Regions from separate parts of the Homo sapiens genome. Here regions 1 and 2 are each linked to region 3. The links are contacts of gene promoters, found by promoter capture Hi-C in blood cells and fetal thymus (Javierre and others, 2016). All regions are on one chromosome and are shown on one strand. The core of a region is centred on a gene start or on the middle of the fragment in contact, and the rest is flanking DNA. Distances in the headings are between cores, read along the strand shown. Region 1 has its middle 56 kb from the start of LINC01220. Region 2 has its middle 19 kb from the start of LINC01220. Region 3 holds the start of JDP2 (Jun dimerization protein 2).

Region 1 (3,371 bases), core at 545-3,044, 77 kb after region 3:
TTCCAGCTGCCTCAAACCAACGGCAGTCCCCTATATGTGTGCTTCTGAGAGGCTCCTCTCCCAACAGCCAGTGCTGCCTCAGTTTCTCCTGGGTTGTCAGTCTTTTGAAGTCTAAAAATTAAATGATTCAGATCAAATTCTTGATCTGGCACTTACTGGCATGTGTCCTTGAGTGGGAAAATTTCTTACCCTTATAGCCGGGCACAGAGGTTCTTGCCTGTAATCTCAGCACTTTGGGAAGCTGAGGCGGGAGGATTACTTGAGGGCAGGAGTTCAAGAACAGCCTGGGCAACATGGTGAAATCCCGTCTCTACAAAAAAAAAAAAAAAAAATTCTTAACCTCTGTGAATGTGCCTCAGTTTTCTCCCCTGCAATGTGGAAATTAGTGCCAATGCCTACCTTGGCATTGGCCATAGGATAATAAAACGGGCTCATCCAGGAAAGCACTTAACACAGAGCCTGGCACACATAACTGCCTTAAAAATGTTTGTGACAGACCCCAGGTCACATCCTTTATCCCTCTGTATACTAGGCCCTTGTCCTTTTACGCTCTCTGATGTCAAGGCAGCTGCAGCTGTGAGATTTTCCAGCCCTTACCCAAAGCTGAGAACCAAAGACTGTTCATGGTACATTTCTGTACTAGAGGAATAGGAAAGCATATGATTGGAGAACCTGATGGAGACCCCACCCTTCTGGACAAGCATTGACACTCAGGAATATCTGCTGTTGTTGCTACCCAGCTTCCATTCATGCTATCTTCAGGAATGATGCCCTGATTTCCCCTACAGAACATGGTACCCCACTCCCATTCCCAAAGCTTCAGATGGAGGCCTCTCCTGGCCTCAGAGTAGAGCACAAACCTAGGACTCAACCAATCAACGCACTCCATTCTCCTCACCACAGCAACTGGTTGGAGGATAGAAACACCGTCCATCTGAACCAATGACAGCCAGGCCTAAACTTTGGTCTGTGGGGAAACAGATGCTCTCTTTCCTACTGAATTGGATCTTAGAAGAAGTTACTTGGAGCCACTATGAATTTCTTCATTTTTTAAATCAGCATGCCCCCATTACTGTGTGAATTTTAAAAAAGGATGAAAGCTCAGAGCCAAAGGATTATTTGATATAACATATGTGAAAGCTTTTTGTACAAGGCAAAGTTCTATGCAAAATGTCAGAGCTCCTAAAGTCAAGCTATAAAATAAGACTGAGCTACTTTCACTGAGTCTTTTACTCTGCATCAGGTGTTTTATATGCACTATTGAATGTTACTGAATTTAATACTACCAATTGCCCTTTGAGGTAGGAATTATTTAAGGCCCATTTTACAGATAAAGAAAGTAAAGCTTAGTAAAATTAAGTATGCCCAAACCCACACTGGGGGGTTCTCTGGTAGAACAGCCTGCCTGTGTTATATACCCATATGACCAAAGGAACTGTGGAGTTTAACTTGTGTAACCTCACCAGATTCTGCATACAAGATGAAGTCACATTAGCTGTTATACCCAAATTTAGCTAAGTCATGCAATTATGCCCAAGTTCAGCTGAGTCCTGGCCCCTTTCTGCTCACAGGGATCTCATGCTACCCCTCCTTTGCCCTTCTCTCTCCCCTATCTCAAGCTCCAGACACCAGAATACCAAAGCAACTCCCCTATTCCCCACCCTCTGGTGCAAATCACTCAGACCAATGCCTGGAGAGCTCAGTTTGCAGCCATAGCAAAGCAAGATCACCCAGCTACAATGATACAATTGCCTGCCAATCACAAGCCAGCAGCTCTATCATTTTGTAGAGAAGGTTGGCTTCTCCTCTTATCTCCTCCATATTTCCACCCTCACATGTGGCCTTTTCTCTCCATTCATCTCGGTCCTTGGAGAAGGAAGGTCCTTTCTGAGTCTCTTCAATATCCAAGGTCTAATCTCTTCTGTATGTGATCCCCACCTACTACTGGAATCTTCCTCCACCCTTGGCTGGTGTGTCTCTACAGGCATCTCCTCCTACTGCTCAGATGGCACCTTCACCAGCTCCTCCTCCCCCTCCTGCCATCTTCTAACTCTGGAAAGTCACCAGGACTCAGTCCTGGATGCCACACCATTTTCCCTTCATAAGCTCTTCCTCAAGTAGGCCATTTCTCTTATGGCTTCAGTGACCACTTCTCTGAGGACAAATTCTAACTAAATCTCAGGCCCGGCCCACAGAACGTCCACTTGGATATATCCCTGTCACCTTAAAACCTTCAAGCTTAGAAGGGTCCCAAGTCCTCCCTGACAATTGGTTCTCTCTCTCCTAACTTCTCTATGTCTGTGAGCACATCTGTTTGTTTTCAGTTTAGGGGAGGAAAATTGCAGCCAGGCCTCTGCCATAACTAGCAATACTTAGCACCACTCTCTCCCTCCCCAGATTAAAATGAGTTGTCCTGTAGTAGGGTAGCTAATGACCACTCTGTGACAACCAAAAATCTCAGTGGCTTAACACAATACAGGTTAATTTCTTACTTCTGTCACAGATCAATGAGAAATCAAAGGTGAGGAACTCTGCTCCATATAGTCATTCAGGGACCCAAGCCCTTTCCCTAGTGGCTCTGTTATCTCCTAAGACTTGGAATCCCCCACTACATCCTCAGTGTACAGCCAGCAGATGAAAGACCAGAGAGAGTGATGGATCACAGGGGACACTTTTAGGAACCAGGACCAGAGGTGGTATACGGCACTTTCACCTGCATCCCACTGGTCGGGACTGAGTCACATGCCCCAGCAAACTACAAGAGAGGCTGGGAAATGTAATCTAGCCATGTGCCCAAAAGGAAAAGGAAATGGAGGTTGGTGAACACATAGCAATCACCTCTCAGCCTGGAGTGCTTGGTCTGCAACCTAACCCCTCAATAAGCCCCATATCTTGAAGAATTTCAACCTTGTCTCAACCAAGCAGCCCAACCACAGCTGCTCAACCTGCCCCTAAGTATCAACTTAATGACATTGGTTCTCACACAATTGCTAGTCTTCGTTCATCCAATAAACAGTTACTGAGCACTTAATCATCCCCCAGTTGTTATGCTATACACCAGAGAGGCAAAGGCAAGTAAAAAAGTGGTCCCTGCCCTCAAGAAGACCCCATCTTGTATAACCTCATTCAAACCTAAGGAAAACATTTACTATATTATTATTTCGCCATTTAAAATCCTTTTCTTGGCTGGGTGCGGTTGCTTACGCCTGTAATCCCAGCACTTTGGGAGGCCGAGGCGGGCAGATCACTTGAGGTCAGGAATTCAAGACCTGCCTGGCCAATATGGTAAAACCCTGTCTCTACTAAAAATACAAAAATTAGCCGGGCATGGTGGCAAGTGCCTGTAGTCCCAGCTACTCAGGAGGCTGAGA
Region 2 (3,346 bases), core at 723-3,222, 120 kb after region 3:
CTACTAAAAATTTTTTTAAAAAAATTATTCAGGTGTGGTGGTGCATGCCTGTAGTCCTAGCTACTCAGGAGGCTGAAGCAGGAGGATCACTTAAGCCCAGGTGGTCGAGGCTGCAGTGAGCCATGACTGTGCCACTGCATTCCAGCCTGGGAGACAAAGCGAGATCCTGTCTCAAAAAAAAACAGAGACATGTTCTTGTTCTAGACTTTCTGTATTGCCCTACATCATCACCCCTCCTGGTTAGTAGGGAAACCTCTCCCCTTTGCCCCCTTTCTCTTATTTTCTCTATTATTTAGAATGCTTTTGGATGATGATAATTATTATTATTGATGATGATGATAGTAGCTAATATTTATTGGGTCATAGTTTGGGTTACCAGGAAGTGACTCTGAGAACAGCATTCAGGTTGTACAGTTGGGATCAACACCTGTAGAAAGAGAGGGGAAAAAAAGTGGGATTCAGCAAAGGGAGAAGTTTTAGAGGAGACAAATCAGTGAAACGAGTTTGCCTCCCCACGTTTCCCCAGTGTGTAGTTGAGACTGTTGTCTGAGCCAACACATGTTCACATTGTTCCCAGGTTCTCCCATCATGTAATGAGAATAATTCTATCATTTCTCACAAGGCGAGAGGGACACAAATGAAGAAAAGACCAAAACACAGAATTTGAAGCCAGTCTGCCTGGGTTCAAATCCCAGCTCTCCCTTGTACCATCTAGGTGATCTAGGGCAAGATGCTTGATCCTTCTGAGCCTCCATTTCCTCGTCCACTAAATGAGAATACTGTTACTAGCTACCGCACAAAGTTGTTGTGAAGATGAGTGAGGGATTATATGTAAAACACTGGGTGGAATGCCTGGCTCACAGGAAGCACTATGTGTTGGCTGTGGGACTGTACGGCCTTCAGTATTGAAGAAATCACTCATCATGCAACTCTCCTTCACTTATGCAACCACACACACACAACACCCACGTTACACACATACACATGCAACACGTGCAGCATACAGCACGTACTCAACAAAACATACACAGTACACATACATAAAGCAGCAAAGCCTTGTTTCATAAGTTGTCCTTTTTTTCTTTTTTTTTGAGAAGGAGTCTCGTGCTGTCGCTCAGGCTAGAGTGCAGTGGCGTGATCTCGGCTCACTGCAACCTCTACCTCCACCTCCTGAGTTCAAGCGATTCTCCTGCCTCAGCCTCCTGAAGAGCTGGGACTACAGGTGTGCACCACCATGCCCGGCTAATTTTTGTATATTAAGTAGAAACGGGGTTTCACCATGTTGGCCAGGCTGGTCTTGAACTCCCGACCTCAAGTGATCCACCTGCCTCCGCCTCCCAAAATGCTGGGATTACAGGCATGAGCCACTGCGCCCAGCCTCATACTCTGTTCTTTGTGTACTTTGTGGTTTCATTCCATTTTAAAGCCAAATCTCTGCTAATACACACCCATGATGCTCATTGTTCTTCCCCATTGCATGTCATTGTGACATCATGCAATGCCATGATAAGGCGATTTACCAATTGCACATTCTAATTGCTCTCAGAGCATAATATTCATTAGCAATTTTCTTTCATAAGCTTCTTAGCAATAATGTTTCCTCCAATGCAGTATAGCATTCAAAGGTGGAACTTTGGAGTCAGATGAACTTGGGTTGAAATCCTGACATTACTACTTACCAGCTTTGTGACTTGAGGCAAGCTGCTAAACTTCTCTAGCTATAACATTATTCTCATTTTATCAATCAGGAAACAAAGAACCAGAAAGACCAAATCAGTAATCGTGAGTCTCATATTGTTATCTATAAAAAAGCTGCACCTTGCAAGGAATGAAAAGATAAGGTGTGTACCACATTTAAATTGGTGCTTGCCACATGCTAATATATGCTAATAAAACATTTTGTAATGATAAAAGTGATGGTAGTGATGAATGGCTTATTTCTTTATTTTATTTTATTTGAGTCGGAGTCTCACTCTGTTGCCCAGGCTGGAGTGCAGTGGTGTGATCTCAGCTCACTGCAACCTCCGCCTCCCAGGTTCAAGTGATTCTCCTGCCTCAGCCACCCGAGTAGCTGGGATTACAGGCATCCACCACCACACCCAGCTAATTTTTGTATTTTCAGTAGAGACAGGGTTTCACCGTGTTGGCCAGGCTGGTCTCGAACTCCTGGCCTCAAGTGACCTGCTTGCCTCAGCCTCCCAAGGTGCTGGGATTACAGGCGTGAGCCACTGCACCCGGCCAATGGCTTATTTCTTTAAATAGAAAAAAGAAATGCATTGAATAAATCATTGACAGTTAATGGGACTCTCTGGTGATGAACCTGGGTTCTACCCATGCCTGGAGGCTCCAGGTCCCATAAGCTTCCACCCAGCATTGTGTTGTAACTGTACCATTTCCCTTCATGAAATTTGAGAGGTGATGTTTTGACATTATTTCATTTTGTTTCATTTCCTCTTGATGGGTGGGCTTAACCTGTTTCTCAATTTAGGCAGAGCAAAAGGGAGAAGTATTTTAAATTGCCATGATAGTCCAAGTTGGTCTTACCTTCAGGCCCCTGAGCACGAGCCCAAAATTCTCTCCAACTCTCCTACGGTATTTGGGTATTTTCCAATTCCTAGAAATGCCAGATATAAATAACCCTTTCCTTAGTTTCCTCCAAAACTCTCCCTTTCTCCTTTCCTTTTGCCTCTTGGCATTTGGGTACCATAACAATGAATTTTGAAATAATACTTTAATCACATTTTATATTCTTGGCCAGGCTCAGTGGCTCATGCCTATAATCCCAACATTTTGGGAGGCCCCATCTCAAATTAAAAAAAAAAAATTACATTCTTATGGTGCATTTCTGTTCACTAAATGCATTCATATCCACTCTTCACAGTTGGCAGTAAGGAAGATAGTGTAAGTTCCATTTGATGGATGATACAGCTGAGGTTCAAAGAGGTGAACCCACGTGCCCTCGATGCTGGCCTTCAAGCCAACACCATTTCCTGCTGCAGCAAGAAGACAGTCTTTACTGACAGACACATTTATTTTTATTATGGTAAAATATACATAACAAAGTTTACTGTTTGAAACTTTTAAAGTCTACAGTTGAGTGGCATTAAGTACATTCGCATTGTTGTGCAACTCTCATCACCATCATCTCCAGAATGTTTCATCTTCCCAAATTGAAACTTCATACTCATTAAATACTCACTCCCCATTTTCCCCTCCCCTCGGCCTCTGGCAATCACCCCTCTACTTTCTGTCTGTTTGAATTTGACTACTCTAGGAAGCTCACATGAGTAGAATCATAAGCTATTTTTCCTTCTGTGTGATAGACACTTTTGCAGCAAGATTTCTG
Region 3 (3,514 bases), core at 414-2,913:
AATCAGAGCCATGCTCACACCTGATACCTGGTTAAACTCTCCCCTAGAAACCTGCAAAGGAAGATAAGCTATCCATCCAAGCTGCAGCCAGATTTGCTGGAAAGGTAAAAGCAATGGGAAGTGTTTTTTAAAACCCTCAGGGAAGGAAGGTTGGGGGGAAGGGAGATGATACGCGAATGCAGTTTCTACCAAGGGCTTAAAGGACGTTTGGGTACAAATGTACCCAAACATGGTTCAAAGCTTCCCAATTCCTGATGCTCCTCCAATTAAGACCCTAGGGAGAGACCACCAAGATTTAAGCCTGGGTACACACGCCTAAGCAGGCTGCAAGCCCTTTCTGAGATATAGACCTGAGCACATTTGCCCTGAGCACACGTGGTCGGGCCATAGCCCCATGCCCTGGATTCCAACAGGGAGGGCAGCACCCTGGGCAAGGGCCACGCCATCTTGCAACTGGAGATGACCCAAGGGGGTCGGCTGATTTCTCCTTCCACCAGCCTCTCCATCCCTGCAAAAGAGCCAGGACCTCCCCATCTTCCCCAGCCTCCTCATCTTCCCTGCTCCTCCTACTGACCCAGGCAAAGCCTGGCTCTGCCATCCCAGGGTCCAGGGATCCAGGTGGAAGGCCCAATCCACCCCTACACTCTCCCACCCCCCACTGCACCCCTACCCCTCGACAACCTCCTTTGAAGGGAGGAGCAGAGGAGAGCCTTCTAAGCTGGGCTGGGCAAGGGAGAGGCTGGTTACCTACAGGAGCCTGCTTGCCTCCTTATATAACCTGGCGTGGGAGACAGGAGAGCCCAAAGGGGACCCCGGCCACCCCTAGATCCCCTCCCAGCCCAGAGCTCCGAAGCAATGGCCATGAGAGAAGCTGCCTTCATTGGATGGAAATCCCGAGCCCTTCTCAATACTCTCCTCCGGGTCCGGGTCCTCCGGGAGTCGCGCTTCCTCACTGCCAGGAGGTCCTTGTCATCCCTCCACAATCTAACCCCGACCCCAACCCCGCACCTCCCTGGCCCTTCACCCTCCACCTCCACCCGCACAGCCCATCTCCGCGGGCACTTTTCTCCCCACTCACCCCGCCTTCCCCGCCGCCCGAGGAGAGCACCTCCCTGCAAACGGACGGGGGAGGAGAGCGCGGGAGGGAGAAGGAGGGAGCACCCCGGCTGTCCAGGGAGCGGACGGAGCCTCCCGTCCCGGGGCGGGAACCAAAAGGAAGCCTCAGGCTGCCGGGCGCCTCGCGGGAGGGGCCCGGCTGCAGCGCCCGGCGCGGGGAAAGCTCGAGGTCCCTGGGCTGCGGGAGCCTCCCCGCGGGGCTGGGCTGGGGCTCCTCGCGCTCCGCCCGTGCGGGGGCGGCCGTCCCAGGTGCCCGCGCCGCGCCCTGCCCCGCCCCGCCCGTCCCGGCGCCCCCAGCGCGCGCCCTCGCACCCACCGTGCAGAAGGTGCGGGGGGAGGCGGCGCCCCCGGGGCCGGGGCCCGGCTGCAGGCGCCGTGCCCGCTCCGCGCCGCTGCCGCCCGGCCGCGGAGCTCCGCCCGGTGCCCAGGCCTGTCCCGGCCCGGGAGCCGCCGCGGCGCCAGCCCCGCCGCCGCTGCAGCGTCCGCCGCCGCCAGCGCCCCCCGTCGCGGCCGCCGAGCGTCCCTCCCGCAGGCTGTGGCGGGCGGCGGGACGGGTTGCATCAGCCCCGGCTATATAGCGGCCCCTGGGCGGCGGGGAGGGGTCGGGAATGCGGAACCGGCCGAGCTGCCAGCTCCAGACGTCAGAGGGGGACGGAGAGGAAGGGAAGGAGGGGACCGGGGAGGAGGGGGTGTGGAGCCGGCGCTTCACACCCACTGACCTTAACCTCCCCCGCCGCCTTGGGCGCCCTCCTCCCGCGGCCGCTCGCGCTCCTCTCCCCGCGGGGGCGTCCCGGGTTCCATGCAGTCCCCCGGCTCCGCCACCCCACGGTGCAGGAGCGCTCGAGAAAGCAGGACGCGGCGAGCGGTTATGTAAGCGCACCCCCCGCGCACCGCCGCCCGGCTTGTGCCCGCCAGGCAGCAGCAGCCGCAGCCCTAGGAGAGAGACGCGAGAGGCCGGAGCCGGGGGAAAAGTCAAAAGCCCCTTCACGCACAGCCTGTGTTAACCATGTACCTCAGTCCCGGCGCTTCCCCCACAAACTGAGAGCGACAGGGAGAATTTCCGCACAGTTTCATCCTTGGACACTTCAGGACTGAGCGGGTGAGGAGGCGATCTCGCCAGCCTGCTTTATTTTTCGGTGGAGAAGGATGGGCTGAGATGAAGGCATTTGGGGACTCCTACCCCTACCCACCGGCCCCCGCCAGCGCCCTTAGGCCCCGAGACGGCTGGCTGCACCAGCCTGACCTCTGCTAGGGCTGCAGCCTGAGACCGCGGCTTGCTCTACTGCTGGCGCAGTTTGACCCTTGGGCTTGTACCCTGCTCCAGCGGGCTTCTCCTTTCCACTCCGGACACAGCAGTGAGCAGACCCAGCCCTCAGCAGACCCCAAGTGGCCTTCTTCCCCGTTCCAGCTTCAATAGCCAACCCCACTCCCACCTTCCATCCTTCTAGAGAGGAAATGGTGAAGGGGACTCCAGAGGGAAGGCGACATCCATGGTGCCCTCCAGTATACAAAGGCAGAGACACAGAGCCCTCAGGTAGAACGGGGTTCCCTAGATGGCATCTCCTACCTCCAGAGCTCCTGGGTACCCATCGAGCCCCCTACCTTCTGCCTAAGCCAGATAGGAGTGACGATTTTTATACTCAGCGACTTTCGGCCTCCTTCTGAGAGTGATGTCAGGTCATCACCCATAGAAGAAAGGAAGTGAAAGAAAAAGTTCATGCCTTCTTGGAGTGCAGATGCTCAGAGTGAAAGAAACAACAAGACTTGAGACAGATGGGTGCCATTGAGCAAACCCGAACATGCATGTCTCTCTCATGTGAGTGAGTGCATGAGACTTTATTCTCCTTATTTCCCCAGTGCAGTGAAATCTTTCTGGATAAAAGAAGTGGGCTAATGGAAGGAGAGACAGACCAAGTCCCAATGACATTGCCTGACCATTTTCACCTTCGCCATCAGCAGTCTCCCTCACAGCATTGGTGTGGGCAGGTAAGAAGAAAGCAAGGCCCTGAAAGAATATACATTGGAAAATGAGCAGTAATTTGATACTCTTGTGGAAGAGCATGACTCTTCGCCCCAGAAAGGCCAATGACACCTTTACTACAGCGTAAAGATCAAAGCCAGGGACTGTGAAACTGCCTCATGATGTTTCTCCCATGAGACCTGTGTCTGGATGTTTATATGGAACAAAACATGGAACAGAGGCAATAGTACTTGATGTGTCTTCAGCTGGGGCTTTGGATAAACTAAACTGATCTATATTCAGGGACTAATAATTAGGGTGTGTGGTTAGAGCGCGTCCTCTCTAGGGCCTGTTTTGGACTGTGGCTGGGCCACCAGCAGTCCTACTGGGCCTTTGCTTCCCCCACAAATTAAATATGTTACAGGGGTGGCACCAAGG

What was found. Contacts are between HindIII fragments. The CHiCAGO score rates a contact against its expected background, and 5 or more counts as called.
Region 1: a fragment that was not itself captured here is called in contact with the fragment with the promoter of JDP2 in region 3 in 2 of 17 cell types (monocytes and M1 macrophages); the score reaches 8.4 in monocytes.
Region 2: a fragment that was not itself captured here is called in contact with the fragment with the promoter of JDP2 in region 3 in 8 of 17 cell types (monocytes, M1 macrophages, M0 macrophages and 5 more); the score reaches 13.1 in monocytes.

The regions. Positions count from the first base shown.
Region 1 is chr14:75,349,021-75,352,391 of GRCh38, reverse strand. No RefSeq gene overlaps it. Among named protein-coding and RNA genes, the nearest start is that of LINC01220, 56 kb to the right of the region's middle. The HindIII fragment of the contact is 893 bases long and covers 1,348-2,240 here.
Region 2 is chr14:75,311,611-75,314,956 of GRCh38, reverse strand. No RefSeq gene overlaps it. Among named protein-coding and RNA genes, the nearest start is that of LINC01220, 19 kb to the right of the region's middle. The HindIII fragment of the contact is 780 bases long and covers 1,583-2,362 here.
Region 3 is chr14:75,426,171-75,429,684 of GRCh38, reverse strand. JDP2 (Jun dimerization protein 2) reads right to left here and starts at 1,663. Exons shown (of 4, transcript NM_001135048.2): 1 at 1,433-1,663. It overlaps JDP2-AS1 (JDP2 antisense RNA 1), which reads left to right and starts at 2,030. Exons shown (of 2, transcript NR_184172.1): 1 at 2,030-2,215; 2 at 2,974-3,514. RefSeq lists silencers at 1,015-1,184, 1,245-1,424, 1,675-1,944 and enhancers at 1,610-2,167, 2,135-2,194, 2,215-2,544, 2,795-2,894. The HindIII fragment of the contact is 6,934 bases long and covers 243-3,514 here.